Linked DNA regions of Homo sapiens: region 1 is linked to region 2. Evidence: promoter capture Hi-C in human tissues and cell types (Jung and others, 2019). All regions are on one chromosome and are shown on one strand. Each heading gives the region's core, a stretch centred on a gene start or on the middle of the fragment in contact. The rest is flanking DNA. Distances are from core to core; before and after follow the strand shown. Region 1 overlaps FLJ12825 (a long non-coding RNA gene). Region 2 holds the start of HOXC11 (homeobox C11).

Region 1 (6,711 bases), core at 1,358-3,857, 100 kb before region 2:
CTGGGCCTCGTGGGCTCTCTCCGCTCCGACGCCTGGTCGGGGCTTCCCTGTTGAGAGGGTTTTAGGCCGAAGGGCCAAACGACTCAAGCCAGACTCTGCTTTTTCATTTTTCTCCCTTAGGCCTCTCCACTTGCCCGAGCTCTCAGCCACCAGGAGACAGAAGGAAGGGACTTCTGGGCTGCGTTGGGAGCGGGCACTGTCCCCTATCTACTCCTGCTCGGTTTCCCAAAGTCCAGCGACATCCGACCCTCCTGGGGGGAAAAATACCAGTACCCAGACACCTCTGCACCCTGTTATATGACTGGGCTTGCTTCAGGAATATCTTACAAAGAAGAAGAAGAAGAAGAAGAAAGAACAGCTTGGAGTCATGTTTACATCTAGTTCTACTGACCGGTTCCCATCTGGAGAGTTTATTTATAACTCCCTCTATAACTCTCTGTTTGGAGGCACTGGTGGCTCTATTGACAGACTGATGTCTAGGAAATATTGCTCTATGTCTAACCGTACCTAAATGTGCTGTGGTTGTATTTACAGATTTATGTTTGAGGGAAATATAATTATTTCCATTGTATTTGTGCATATACAGTAGTTATAGGAGCAGATTTATATATGGGAAAATATACGACTCTCTTACAGCCATCCGGCTTTATGTACATGTGATATCCTGACAGATTTATATCTCTGAACAGCTATATAGATAAAAACGTATATTGTTAGAATTATGTATCAGGAGATATATACTTATTGATTGTGAAATAGAGTAGTTAGAGCATTCACTTAGAGCCATATATGGCTATGGAGATATTTCTATATTATTATCACTATATATAGGCATATCTATTTATAACTACATAGTTATAAAAATAGACATAAATAATTATAGTCCTATATGTGCATGCTGCAATCTCTCTCTAGAGTTATAGACACTTTCAAATATAACTCTATAGAGAGATCTGTATGTATATAAGGTGTAATTATCTTGTGATGTTTTTACGTTGGGACTTAGGCCCGTTTGTCTAGAACAGACATCTTTATATGTAGGGGATGGGAGAGACTTGTTCACAGATATCTGCAGAGGGCCAACTGGAAACACTGTATCTGCCCTCTAGGAAACCAGCTAGGAGAGTTGTGTACTTATGGAGGGATGGAGTTACAAAAGGGTAAATAGAGCTCAGGGAGCCTTAAGGAGGGGAGGTGAATGGAGGGTGGGTGGGCTGGGTTTGAACAGATAGTGGGAGGAAAGGGGTAAACACCAGCACCCACCAGAAGGCGAGAACCGGTTTTGTGAGGGGCTGGCGCAGACGGCTGTGGACAAGGAGCTTGTAAAATGGGAAGCGGCGAACAGTCCCACCACCTCACCCTGAGACACTCTCCACCGAGGAAGCAGCCTTCAGTTTGGCTTTTAGTGCGCTGTAGGATAGGGACTGTCGTGTCCCTCCTGTAGTCCTAGAGCGTTTCTGTTGAACCCTAATTTTTAGGTCTCAAAGAGTGGGCTTCAGAGATAAAGAGGTTTAGGCAGGGACAGGGCGAGGAGCGTGGGGTGTACTTTCACTTTCCGATAAGTGAGGTAATCCAGGAAAGTGAGTTAATTTGGCCAAATAAAGCTTGTTTTTATCTGGGCCTCCTGTGCCTTGGCGGGGATGTAGGATGGGACCAGAATCTAGTGGACTGAGGAGTGAATTTGCAAGTATTGGGCCTGCTCTGATGGGGGCTTGGGGAGGTTGTCCTCACCACCCGCCCTCCTTCTCTGAGGCCTGAGTGGCCTAATTCCCTCTGGGCACAGAGGGACTCCTTCAGCTCCCTAACAGTGCTGCCCTGGGTCTTTTCAGGGAGAATTTGAGTTTAGGAACAGGGAACGTGGACTTACCCCACTAGATCTCACTTCTCCCACTCACAGCTACACCACTCTTACATCAGCCTCCTTCCAGGCACCGCTGGGCCAGGGGTCCCCAATTCTTCCCCTGCTGCCAACCAGCCCAGTGGGGAAATACCTCCCACGACTGCCAGTTTTTGTGGTTTTTTGTTGTTGTTGTTGTTGTTGTTTTTAAACAGGGAGTTACAGATAACTTCGTTGAATGTGTGAAGGAATTATCCTGAACTCAGTCTCCGTGGCCAACCTGGCCTCCAGGATCTCTAGGATGCTAGGAAGGGAGTGGAGACCCTTGGACCAGGCTAACCACCATGTGCCACCCTCCACACACCCCTGCCCACGGGACTAGGAATTCCTGCAGTGCAGGGACTCTGTCTGCTGTCTGGCACAGAATGGTTGCCCAAACATACTTCTTGAGGTAAACGGAATGGCAGTCAATATAAAAACTCACCCTCCCTCTGCACACCACCATAGCCACTGCAGGCTAGCAGGCACCCTAGCCAGGCTGGGAGATAACATGGCGGCTGGCAGCAGCTTGGGCTTTGACCGGACCGGTGGTTAGTAGGGTGGGAGAGCATCCTGAGCCTAGGATGGGGCGGGTACTGGAGCAAGGCACCTGGAATCTGGAAATTTGGGGGTAAGCCAAGGCAGACCCACCACCCCAGTGCACTTCTGCTTTCTATCTCCAGTCTCCTGGCTCCCTGGACCCCCAAGTTATGAAAACTAAACCAGAGCTGAGACCTGGGCTAGGAAGGAATTGCCTGTCAATCCGAGGGGTGCAAAGAGGAACCACCATTGGGTCCATTAAGAAATCCACAAATAAAACAAAAATAAATCAGTGCGAGACAGACAACCTGGCTGAAGGAAAGGTTTCTCTCTATGCCTCAGCCCTGCTCCAGGGCTACCAAACAGATCAGGCTTAATATTTAAAATGTTTAATAGTTAAAAATTTTTAACAATTTAACTTTAAAAAGGTCACACATTTTCTGATCCAGTAATGCCGCAATCAGATTGTTTCATTTTTTTTTTTATTATTATTATCACCAGTGTCCCCTTTTTGGTCCCTGTAAAATAGTTCCTTTTGGGAGTTTGGAGCCAGGCCAGGCACCGTCGGTGCATGGGATGAGATGGGCAGGTTTGGAGCTCCTCTGTCTGGTGAGGATCCCAGTCTGCAGAGAAGGGTTGGCCTCCCCCTCTCCCATCAAGGCTTAAAGCAAGGAGGACCCTCCCGAATTTGGTTCCTTTTCCCCTAAGTATCCTTAGAGACAATCCACCCTGTGACTAGGTGACTAGGTGAAGGACTGAGGTCCAGAAAGGAGCTATCTTAAACCTGGAATCCCATTTCCTAGTCTGCAGCCTTTGGCAGTTTCCCTCTCAGACAACTAGCCCTCTCCTTCCTCCCCATGAATACCTATGGCTTACAGGGATGGTTGTTGCTTTCCCTAAAGAAATTCAGGGAGGGAGAACTGAGGGTCCTACATTTACATATATTTGCCTAAGAAGGGCTCAAGGCAGGTGCCTGGGCTCTGGCTAGAAGTAGGGGGGTTGAGGGGGGGATTGCTGACAGTTGCTGTAAACAGCAGGTTACAGTAGTGGCCAGTGTCTATTGGTTTGTCCTTAGCCAAAAGGCAGGAAACCAATAGACACTGGCCACTATTATTAACCCCAAAGAGTCCTGGGTCCCTTTTACCTGGGCTGGAATGGCTCTTAGCTGTTCCTGGGTCCCAGACCCCTTTGAGAAGCTGACAAAAACAATTGGCTCACTTCCTAGCAAAATTCTGGAAGTGCCCTTGATAGTTGCAGGAGTCCTAGAAGCCTATGATCTCTAGACTGAGTATCCCTAATTTGTATATTTCCCCTTTGTTTCTGTGACCCGCCCCCTCCCTAAATGCCTGCCTCAGTTTTTGCCCTCCCTGAGTTCTCTTGCTTGGAAATCAAGAAGTTATTCCCTAAATATAACCCCCACGATTCTCGGCAAGGTTCCTTTTCTTCTTTTCTTTGCTAGAGCAGGTACCTGGCAGAGGCCTTGCTGCTTATGTTGAGCTCCTGTTTGGTTCTCCTGCAGACACCAGAAGAACGGCTGTTAACTGAAGCCTAGTCTATATTGCCCAATTACTCGACTGATTCCTGGGGAGGCGGGGGCTGGGGGTTATTGACAGCTGTGGAGGCCTGGCAGTAAGGGGGTCAGTTCCCATCTTTAGTGGAAATTCGAGCAGGAAGCAAGTTACAATTGCTATTATAGTCATAATAATAACAATAATAATTTATTTAGCATATCATTAGATGTGTATTTACTGTCTTCCCTCTGCTTTTTTACAAGTGTCTCCTAAGGAATTCTCACAACACCCAAGGGAAACAATAATAAGCTAATTACCACCCTTTAGTTCCTTCTCCTCCCGTCCACAAAGCCCCCCTCTCAGAGATGGAGCGTTTACAGACCCTCTTCCTATGTTTTACACCTGCTTAACACATTCTCCCCCATTCCCAATTCTCCTCTCTCATTCCCAGTTCTTCCAACCTGCTTTTTTTTTTTTTTTTTTTTTTTTTTTTTTTTTTTTTTTTCTGAGATGGAGTCTCACTCTGTCGCCCAGGCTGGAGTGCAGTGGTGTGATCTCAGCTCACTGCAAGCTCCGCCTCCCGGGTTCACGCCATTCTCCTGCCTCAGCCTCCTGAGTACCTGGGACTACAGGCACCTGCCACCACGCCCGGCTAATTTTTTGTATTTTTAGTAAAGACAGGGTTTCATCGTGTTAGCCAGGATGGTCTCGATCTCCTGACCTCGTGATCCGCCCGCCTTGGCCTCCCAAAGTGCTGGGACTACAGGCGTGAGCCACCGCGCCCGGCCTTCCAACCTTCTTAAAGAAGTTTTCTCATAATTCAGAGGAGGAAAGTTTGGGGAGGGGAGTAGTTGAGGCCCTACAACTTGGTTGTAGTTGTTGTAAGTATTAATATTATTTCCCTGATATCACAGCAATATTTAGGGTAATGTAGGAGGAACCAAGTTCTCACTTATCGGGCTGCTCTTTTTACGGCAGAAACTGCCTACACAGGGTTTAGGTGCAGACTGGATTAGAGAGAGGATGTGTGCTGCCATGATGCCAAAACATCCGAGTTGAAAAACATTGGTAGGAAAGCGGCCAGTCCTGCAGATGTAACATCCACTCTGGTGGCCTTCAGGCTGTTCTGGTCAGATTGCAGAGATGCCAGTTGTCGCATATCTCATTGGCCTCTTTTGTCAATGGAAAGAAAGGAAGGAAGGAAAGGAGGGAGGGAGGGAAGAATACGTGTGTGTGTTTACACACATACATACATATTCAATATTCACACACACATTTTTTCCTTAGTAAATAACCATGACAATAGTTATACTTTTTCAAATATTAATTTCTTTGCTCTTTCAAATATATATTTATATCTCCTCAGAGATTACAATTAAAACACAAACCAGGCCAGGCGTGGTGGCTCACGCCTGTAATCCCAGCACTTTGGGAGGCCGAGGCAGGTGGATCATGATGTCAGGAGTTCGACACCAGCCTGGCCAAGATGGTGAAACCCCATTTCTACTAAAAATACAAAAATTAGCTGGGCGCGGTGGCAGGTGCCTGTAATCCCAGCTACTAGGGAGGCTGAGGCAGGAGAATTGCTTGAACCTGGGAGGCAGAGGTTGCAGTGAGGCAAGATTGCGCCACTGCACTCTAGCCTGGGCGACAGAGCAAGACTATCTCAAAAACAAAACAAAACAAAAAACAAAACACAAACCAGTCACGTGTGTTTGGACGACGGATTCTGGGTGGACTTTTGGACCAACTAAAAGACCCTCTAGAGTCCCAGTGATCTGCAGAGCACACTCTTAGTTGCTCATTTCCTTGACCCCAACCCAGAGTGGAGACCTTTAGCTGCTGTCATGATTGTGTTGGTCAGAGACAGAGCTGCTTGGTCTCAGTCACTGAGACCTGGATGTCGCTGCTCAGACTACTCAGACACTAGTATCGCCTCTCTACCTCTTGCCCAAGTACATCATTGCTCTTGGGAGGATGCAAGTCTGTGCTGGAAGGTACAAGACCTAGGTAGAGTCAATATCAAGGTGAACTGAAAGTTAGAATTGTCTCATTGTCTCAGCTCCCTAAATCACAGATGGCCCAGTGGACATTCTTAGTAGGTCCCACGCCCATTTGGTGTCTTTCTGCTGTCCATACATTCTATGTGTACCTCCTGAAAGGAAGAGGCCTGTGCTCTGGCCCTTTAAGAACCCCAGTCCTATCAAAATTTACTTGTCCTGAGTTCCAGACCATTCTTCTTTATTGAAGAAGAAGCTAGATTGCAGGTTAGGAAACTTTCACCAATGTGTTGACATGCACATTCTCCCAGGCAACTGTGTGTTTTTCGTAGGGGTCTTCAGAAGCCACTGCCCAGATCGGGGGAAATATCTATAATAATGGAATTTTAGACCCATGTGGCAGGTGGCATAATACAAATTTGGGTGAGGATGGTTTATGATTTTTCTTAAATCCTGTCATGAAGGCAGCCACCCATCCTGTCTGTGGGTAAGGCCAACTTTGGCCCAAACCTAAAATTTCCAGGCTGCATGGAGGGGTACAGGACTCTTTCTGCTTCTTTTATTGGCAGATCCTGAAAGATAAGATTAAGTTGGGAAAAAACAAGATTCACTCAGGTAAGAAAAAGATTATGCGCCGGGCGCAGTGGCTCATGCCTGTAATCCCAGCACGCTGGGAGGCTGAGGCAGGCGGATCACGAAGTCAGGAGATCAAGACCATCCTGGCTAACACGGTGAAACCCCATTTCTACTAAAAATACAAAAAGTTTACTGGGCGTGGTGGCAG
Region 2 (7,061 bases), core at 4,039-6,538:
AGGAAAAATGTGGGGCAACGGGCTGAGGAGGTGGGGGTCTGAGTGTGTTGGGAGAGCCAAGACCCTCCACTACAGGTTTGTTTACTATTTAGGGCGGAAGTGGTTTCTAATACAGGCCAGACTGGGTCGTTAAGGTCGAAATGAAACTGGGTTTAGAAACGTGAGGGGGTGCTTTATGGCAGCGTCTAGACGAGGATCTTTTGTTCCCGGGCAGTGCTGCGGCTAGAGGGGATTACCCCAAGAGGTTGAGCCCAGAGTGCCCCTGACCTGCAAGGGGGGTTGGACACCTTGGGAGACGGAAGGTGGGTTTGTTTGGGGGCCAAAAAACCCTTTTTCCTCCTTTTTAGAGGGTCACCAAGGACTGGCAGATTCCTGGCTTGGGTCACAGAAGCCTTTGTTTTTCTTTCATGATGACCTTCTCCTCTCATCCACCAGAACTCTCTTTTGGAGCTGAGGACATTTCTGGGCTCCACATTGCAGAGAAAGTGTTACCTGCGGGTTTTAAATATTTTTCTCCAAAATCAGGCATTTGGAGGCTAATATTTTGCTTTATAAATAGGTTCACCTTATAGAGTTTCCTCTATCCTAATTTCACAGGAAACATCACCAGCAGGCTAATATTTCCTAATGTGGCTAGTGGATAAACATCATACCTAGAGAAGTGTCACACACACATACACACACAAAAATGTACAGAGGCCCCTCAGTTGCATTCCTGCCCACACTCAACAAACACTGCCAATGGTTACACACCACAGAGACACAAGCTCTAGATGTGTATGTGGTCAGGTTTACTCCATGCAACAGACAAAAGCATATAAATAATATTCCTTCTTATGTGCACCCATAGGCACACCGAGTTAAATAAAACGTTTGTGTGTGGGCACATGAGGGAATTGTGGGCTGCATATACACCCTAGTTTGCAAATCTTGTCTCACGACCCGACCCACGTTTACAAATTAGAAATTTAGATACCTAAGCTGCAGGGATTCCTACCATCAAAAATGACAGAACCTAGATTTGATAGTCATGATGCTTTTTCCTTTCATCCAACAGAATTGTATTGACAAAAATATTTTCTTTGAATTATACAAAGACAGAAAGAGGAGGGAAAGATGAGATGAGTTGTCCTGAACCTCTGCCCCCAAATAACGAATTTGAAACAGAGACCAACGAAGTGCCCTCACTGAAAGCACTGCAAGGGCCATGATTATCTTTATACAGAAGAAACATGCAGCAAATATAGATGGGTATGGTGACTGTCCCCGCAGGTCATCTCCATCCCCAGTGCCAACCCCTACAAAACAAACCTCTGGGGCTTTCTACTGTGGGACACCCAATGTATAAACATCAGGGTGGCCCCAGTATAGGCGTCTTGTTGTGTCTGGAAGAGCCTGGCCATTTGTGCCAGAGGGAAAGCAGCCAGGCCCCACCTTCCCACCCCCAGGAGCTGTGGAGAGGAGAGGGAGGGGGCTGGTTTCTCCTTCTGTCCCCTCCTTCCTTAAAAACAGTGTATAAAAATTCCAATACAGATTTCTCCTAGAGAAAAAAAAAAAAAAGCCCTAACCTCCACACTACACATTTAACTGCGACAGACGGAGACATCTGGCAGAAGGGCGGTGGAGCCAAAAAAATTCCTATAAATTTAAATTCGATGATGGTTACAATTAACTCCACAACAAACGTGTACTTAAACAGAAAGCCGTTGCTGGGCGTTTGGACACAGCTCGAGCTGCACGTGAGAAAGGAGAGCTTCAGAGTAGCTATGGAATGTCCTCAGCTTGAGAATGTGAGGAGACTACGGCCATACTCTTGGCCCTGCCAGCGGAGAGGAGCTCCAGGCCGGCTAGCACCGGCCTATCTCACCTCTGCCTGCCTGTCCTCACCCGCTGGGCTCTGCCTGCCTGCCTCCTCCTCCTCCGCCGCTGCCATGGGAGCATGGAGGATTTTAAGAGGAGAGGGGTTAATAAAAGGGTCAAATAAAATCATAATATTGAACAGAATGAAATTTATCTTTATTTGCCACCAAAAAAATTTCACAGCAATCCCTCTGGGAAGGGAGCAGGGTGGGGAGTGCACATGTACACACGCACTCACGCAGAGGAGTAGAGATGCGTGATTTGAATCTCACTGGGGGCGTCCCCCCCTTTCCCTCCAGGTGGAAAGAAACGCTTGGGAAATTTATTTACAAAAATCCAGGCCCCAGCACGGGGGAGGTGCCCAATCCCATCTCCCTACTGCCTCCACCACCCCAATCTTCAATTTTCTTAAAAAAAAAAAAAAAAGAGGTAACGACTGCATAGACTATAGCTATAAATCCATGAAGTGGGGCACTGCTTGGAAAAAGATGTGGAAACCTCAATGCACCGATTAAGAAATTTCAAAGGAAGGTTCTACACATTCAGGGGGAGAACAACTAGGCTCGGGCGGGGCCTTGGCGAAGACGGAGGTAGGACACGGACTTTGCACACCTAACACCAGGTTGAAGGTACAGAAATTTCACAGCAAGGCAGGATCACATTTAGCTGCAAGGTGGGGCGGGGTAGAGGGGGGAGCTCGAGAAGTTTCCGCTGGCAGACATGCTGTCTTAGCGGATCTTTTCACATGGGCAAGGGAAGGCTTTTAGTTCGAGGATTGTTCGGCTCAGGCGCTCACTACTGTCGCCCCTCCCCCACCTAATCCGAGCAGCAAGACATTGTCGCCGAGGTGTGTTTTCTTTTAAATCAAAGTCTTGGCCTCGGCGCCAACGGTGTTCACTCGCCGTGCATCAGACACTTCCCTTCACCCCCTTTCCAGGCCCGGTCCCTGTCCCACAGCGAGAGTCAGATAGAGGGTCCAGGAGGTTCCGGAATGGAGTGCCGGCCACAGCGGTGGGGGCCAGCCCTGGCCACAGTCCAGTTTTCCACCGGCGGAAAGAAGACGAGTTAGAAAATAAAAAATAAAAATAAAATAAAATAATTTTCCCCTCCCCCCGCCCCCAAAAGGGCCCGGTCTGCAGGTTACAGCAGAGGATTTCCCGAGAAATACTGCAGCCGGTCTCTGCTCAGTTTCTTTTCTTTCATCCTTCTGTTCTGAAACCAAATTTTCACTTGTCGGTCCGTCAGGTTCAGCATCCGGGACAGCTGCAGCCGCTTCTCTTTGTTGATATACACGTTGAAGAAAAACTCTCGCTCCAGTTCCCGGATCTGGAATTTCGAATAAGGGCAGCGCTTCTTGCGGGTGCGGGGGGCGTCTGGAGGGAGGGGAGGGGGCAAGTGCGAGGAGAGGGGGGAGAGAGACACGTGAGACCCGGGCGACCCCAGCCCGCTGAGCGCTCAGCGGCCCTTCTCCTAGCCCACCGCGGGCAGCCCTCCCGCCAGGCGGCTGGCTCTCCTGCAGCCGCAGCACCCGGGCAAGCCTCGACCCCCTGCCAGGTCTAGCGGGTCCCCACCCCCCCGCCACTGCGCCACCCCGTCCCCAGTTCTCAGGCGAGAGCCGCGGCTGACAGGGTCTGGGACAGAAGGAAAGCCCTCCAGGTACACGTGCGTCCCCTCGGGCCCCCTGTCTGCTCCCCCTCCGCCCTCGGGCCCTTCCTGGGCCGCCCTCCTAGTGGTTCGGAAAGCCCAACCCCTCCCCCAGAAATCTGGGGGGAAAGCTGAGAACAGGCGCGAAGCAGTGAAATCTGGCGAGAGCAGTCGGGAGGCGGGGAGGAAGCCGGCCAGCAGGCACCGAGACACCAGAGAGCCGCTTCCGGGGCCCTGGCGCCCCGGGAAGCCCGCGGGGCAGCGCCTTCCACACCGCAGTTCTAGGCAAGCACTAAGGCCGCGGACCCGGGAGAAACGCCCAGACCCCCGCCTGGAACGCAGTGGAGTCCTGCGCCGCCTCGCCCCATTCCCCTGTCGCCGCTGACCCCAGAGTTGCTTGGGTTTCTGCTCGAGGACCCGCGAACACATAGTTTGAACATTTTCAAAACTAGTTTTAAGAAGGATCATAGCGGTCCTGGCTTGCCTCTCCGGTCTCAGGTTCTGCTCCATTGCTCCTCTCCCCCACCTCTCCCCCTCTCTGGATCTCTCCCTGTCTTTCCCTCGCCCTCCCCTTTCTCCCCCTCCACCCCTCCCCTCCTCCCCACTCCTCGGCAGCCCGGCTCCCCATACTTCCTTAAATGCTCCTCTAAGTTCACGATCAAAGTTAATATCGCCCGCAATGGTTGCGCTTTTAAAAATTTCACAGACCGAGGGAGATAACGGGGGAGGGGGGTTCACCCGGCTTTTCCAAAGAGCCCTTTTCCCTCCCTCCCCACCCCTTCTCCATCGTAAAAAGTCGAGTCGTTGGGAGAGAGGGCTTTGTAGGTTATAATAAAATCCTTTGAATGCTTATAAAACTCCACATAAAATCGGACTGACCCAAAACACGAGGCCGTCCCCGCTCCCCTTGCCTCCCCCCTTCTCTCGCCCTCCCTCTCTCGCTCCCTCCCTCGCTGCCCGCCCGTTCCCCGGCCGCTGCTACCTACTGGGGGCGGCTCCTTTGGCCGGCTCCTTGGCCACGGAGTGGGCTGAACCGGACGAGCTGGGATTTGTGTTCTCCTCCTCAGCCTCCGCCTCGGCACCCGCCTCAGCCCGGGACGCCAGTCCCGAGGCCGGGGGTGCCTCGGGCTCCCCCTTGGCCTCGCCCTTGCCGGAGCAGGGGGGCTCGGCGGGCGGGTCGCCGCCACCGCAGTAGGCGTTGTCGAAGAAACGGTCGAAGGCTTGAGGCAGGACGCTGTTCTTGTTGACTGAGGAGTAGAAGCCGGCGGGGGTTGCGTGCGGGGCGCTGGGGTGGTGGTGGCCGCCGTAGGAGCCTTCGTTTTTCATGAGGATCTCGGTGACGGTGGAAGGAGGCAGGCACTCCCGGTGCATAAGCTCGTCGGCCGCCGCATAGCAGGAGGAGTAGCTGTTCCGATGGTGCCACTTGCCGGATGGCTCCAGGCCGTAGGAGACCTCCCGGACCGGGGGCACTTGGGCCGAGTAGGGATAGGAGATCTGACGAGAGGGGGCCTGGGGCAGGAAGGAGGAGACCGTGGAGAACTCGGGCATGTAGTAAGTGCAACTGGGCAGATAGAGGTTGGAGGCGCAGCTCCCTCGCTCGCCGAAATCTGCGCCCCTCTCCTTGCGCGACGGAGAGCAGAAGTTGCCCAGGTTGACCGAGTTAAACATCGTTCTCCTCTCCTGCCGGCTCCGGATGGAGGTTTTGGACCCGGTCTAGCGAGGGGGGAAAATTTGGGAAGGCGAGATGACGCGTTATCCGTCTTAGTCTCTCTCTCTCTGAGCACGTGATCCAAAGTAGATATTGTCATATATCAGTTCGGAGCACTTCGCAGACGTAGGAGGGGTTCTCTCTTAGGTAAGATCGGGGACGTTCAGGCGATTGGTTTGCAAACACCGCAGAAACATTATGAAAATCAATTGCAGATTTGTATTCGTTTTTCTCTCGTCACTCCCCTTCTCTCCATACCACAGCACGAGCAAAGGAGGAGAGAGAGGGTTGGGGTGGGGTGGGCGGTGGGATGGGCGAGGGTGGTGGCTGGGAAGGGGTAATTGTATTTTTTTCTAGCTGCTGCTCTTTTTTCCCCCAGGATTGGGGGAAGGAGGAGGGCTCTCATGTATGGGGGTCTTGCCTCCTCTCTGTGAGCAGCACCAGGAGGGTGGGAGTGAGGACTTCTTTCCCCACTGCCTGATTTCCCCAGAGAAGTGAATCCTTTCCCTTAAATCTCAGGGACTCTTACCCTTCCAACCCGCAGAGACACCGCCTGTTCACAAGAGTTTGAAGAAGTCCACTCTTTTCCTGGCCAGAGCTGGGTGTCAAGACTACCTTTCTGGAGTCCTTAGAGAGACTCCCGGAAGAGTATCTGAAGTTTCCCAAAGGTGAGGCAGCCCAGCTGCAAGCCAGTGTCCCAACTTTGTCTGGCTTGCTGTGCTGCCCCTGGCTAGGGAGTCAGATTAGTCATAAACGAGTGGTGAGCAGTGCGCCAGCCGCCCAGCCGGTGCCTGGCGAAGTCTGGGAAAAACCTTCTCTAATGTTGTGTTAAATATTTAGTATGAGAGAGTGGCCCTGGGTGAATATTTCATGCCTGCCTTTATTGTCAATCAATGTGAAGAAAGCTACATCCACTGTGGATTTTCAAATCCCAAACCCCAAAGAAAAGGATTGGAATGAGAGCCATGTATCTTCTATGTCAGGGCCCTTTGGCTTAGTGGCTCAGCCTCAGCTAGTGCGCTGAAAAGAAGCCTAGTGTAGGGGTCCAGGAAGAATATGGTGGGGGGGACTAGGTTTGGGGTTCTTATCCTTGGATGATTTTGAGGACTGTAAGGTGGGTGGTGGGGCCAGGTATGGGTCTCCAGAAGAGACTAACCAGACAGTGGAAAGGAGCGGTGGATGCTGTGGCATCAGGGGAGGCCCAGCGGCCACTCCCTAGTCAAAGCCCCCAGCCTCTGTCCCTGGGGCTGTGACCAGATCTTAGTGCCTCCTTCCTATTTCTCAGCCCTGTCCTGCCCTCCTACAAGTCTGTCAGCCTCCTGGATAGCTGTAGCCCAAGAAGTAGGCTCAGTCATTCTGCATCCCCAACCCCTTGCCTTCCATCCCTCTGAGCACCACAGGACACATGTGGGCATCTGAAAATCACTTTATTGAAAGGTTCTGGACTGGGTCCAAGGGGCCAAAAGCAACCAGCATGAGCTGAAAGCAACCTTGGATCCAAAGAGGAGCTGCCAGGGCACAATTTGTTTGGGAAGGAGGGGAAGAACCGAAGCCCCCAAGGGCTCAGCCCAATGCACACTCAGGGGAAAACAAAAAATAGCCCGAACTCTCTTTACATCCATAACCCTCAGTTAAAATTAGTTTCCACTTAAAGAAATTAGAATGGATTTGTCTTGATGAAACATGATAAGGTGCTGCGGCTCCCAAACCAGATAAGGAGGACACAAAAAATTGTAGCTTGTCTCCATATGTAACCCCTAAAATCCATTCCTCCTCAATGCTCCTGCCTCCTCAAACTTGCTCAGCATTTAAGTGACACCTGAGTGGAGTCTGCCTCCACCATGGGTCC

Evidence for each region. Contacts are between HindIII fragments. The study calls those that stand out against the background at their distance.
Region 1: a fragment that was not itself captured here is called in contact with the fragment with the promoter of HOXC11 in region 2 in 2 of the 25 tissues and cell types used here (H1 embryonic stem cells and thymus).

The regions. Positions count from the first base shown.
Region 1 is chr12:54,072,850-54,079,560 of GRCh38, reverse strand. All of the region lies in intron 1 of FLJ12825 (a long non-coding RNA gene), which reads right to left. It overlaps LOC100240735 (a long non-coding RNA gene), which reads left to right. Exons shown (of 3, transcript NR_026658.1): 3 at 121-722. Among named protein-coding and RNA genes, the nearest start is that of FLJ12825, 18 kb to the right of the region's middle. RefSeq lists a silencer at 1-16. The HindIII fragment of the contact is 4,817 bases long and covers 199-5,015 here.
Region 2 is chr12:53,971,353-53,978,413 of GRCh38, reverse strand. HOXC11 (homeobox C11) reads right to left here and starts at 5,288. Exons shown (of 2, transcript NM_014212.4): 1 at 4,491-5,288; 2 at 771-3,233. The coding sequence starts at 5,172. The coding sequence ends at 3,001. It overlaps HOTAIR (HOX transcript antisense RNA), which reads left to right and starts at 3,460. Exons shown (of 7, transcript NR_186241.1): 1 at 3,460-3,516. RefSeq lists enhancers at 2,988-3,137, 3,468-4,062. The HindIII fragment of the contact is 16,724 bases long and covers 1-7,061 here.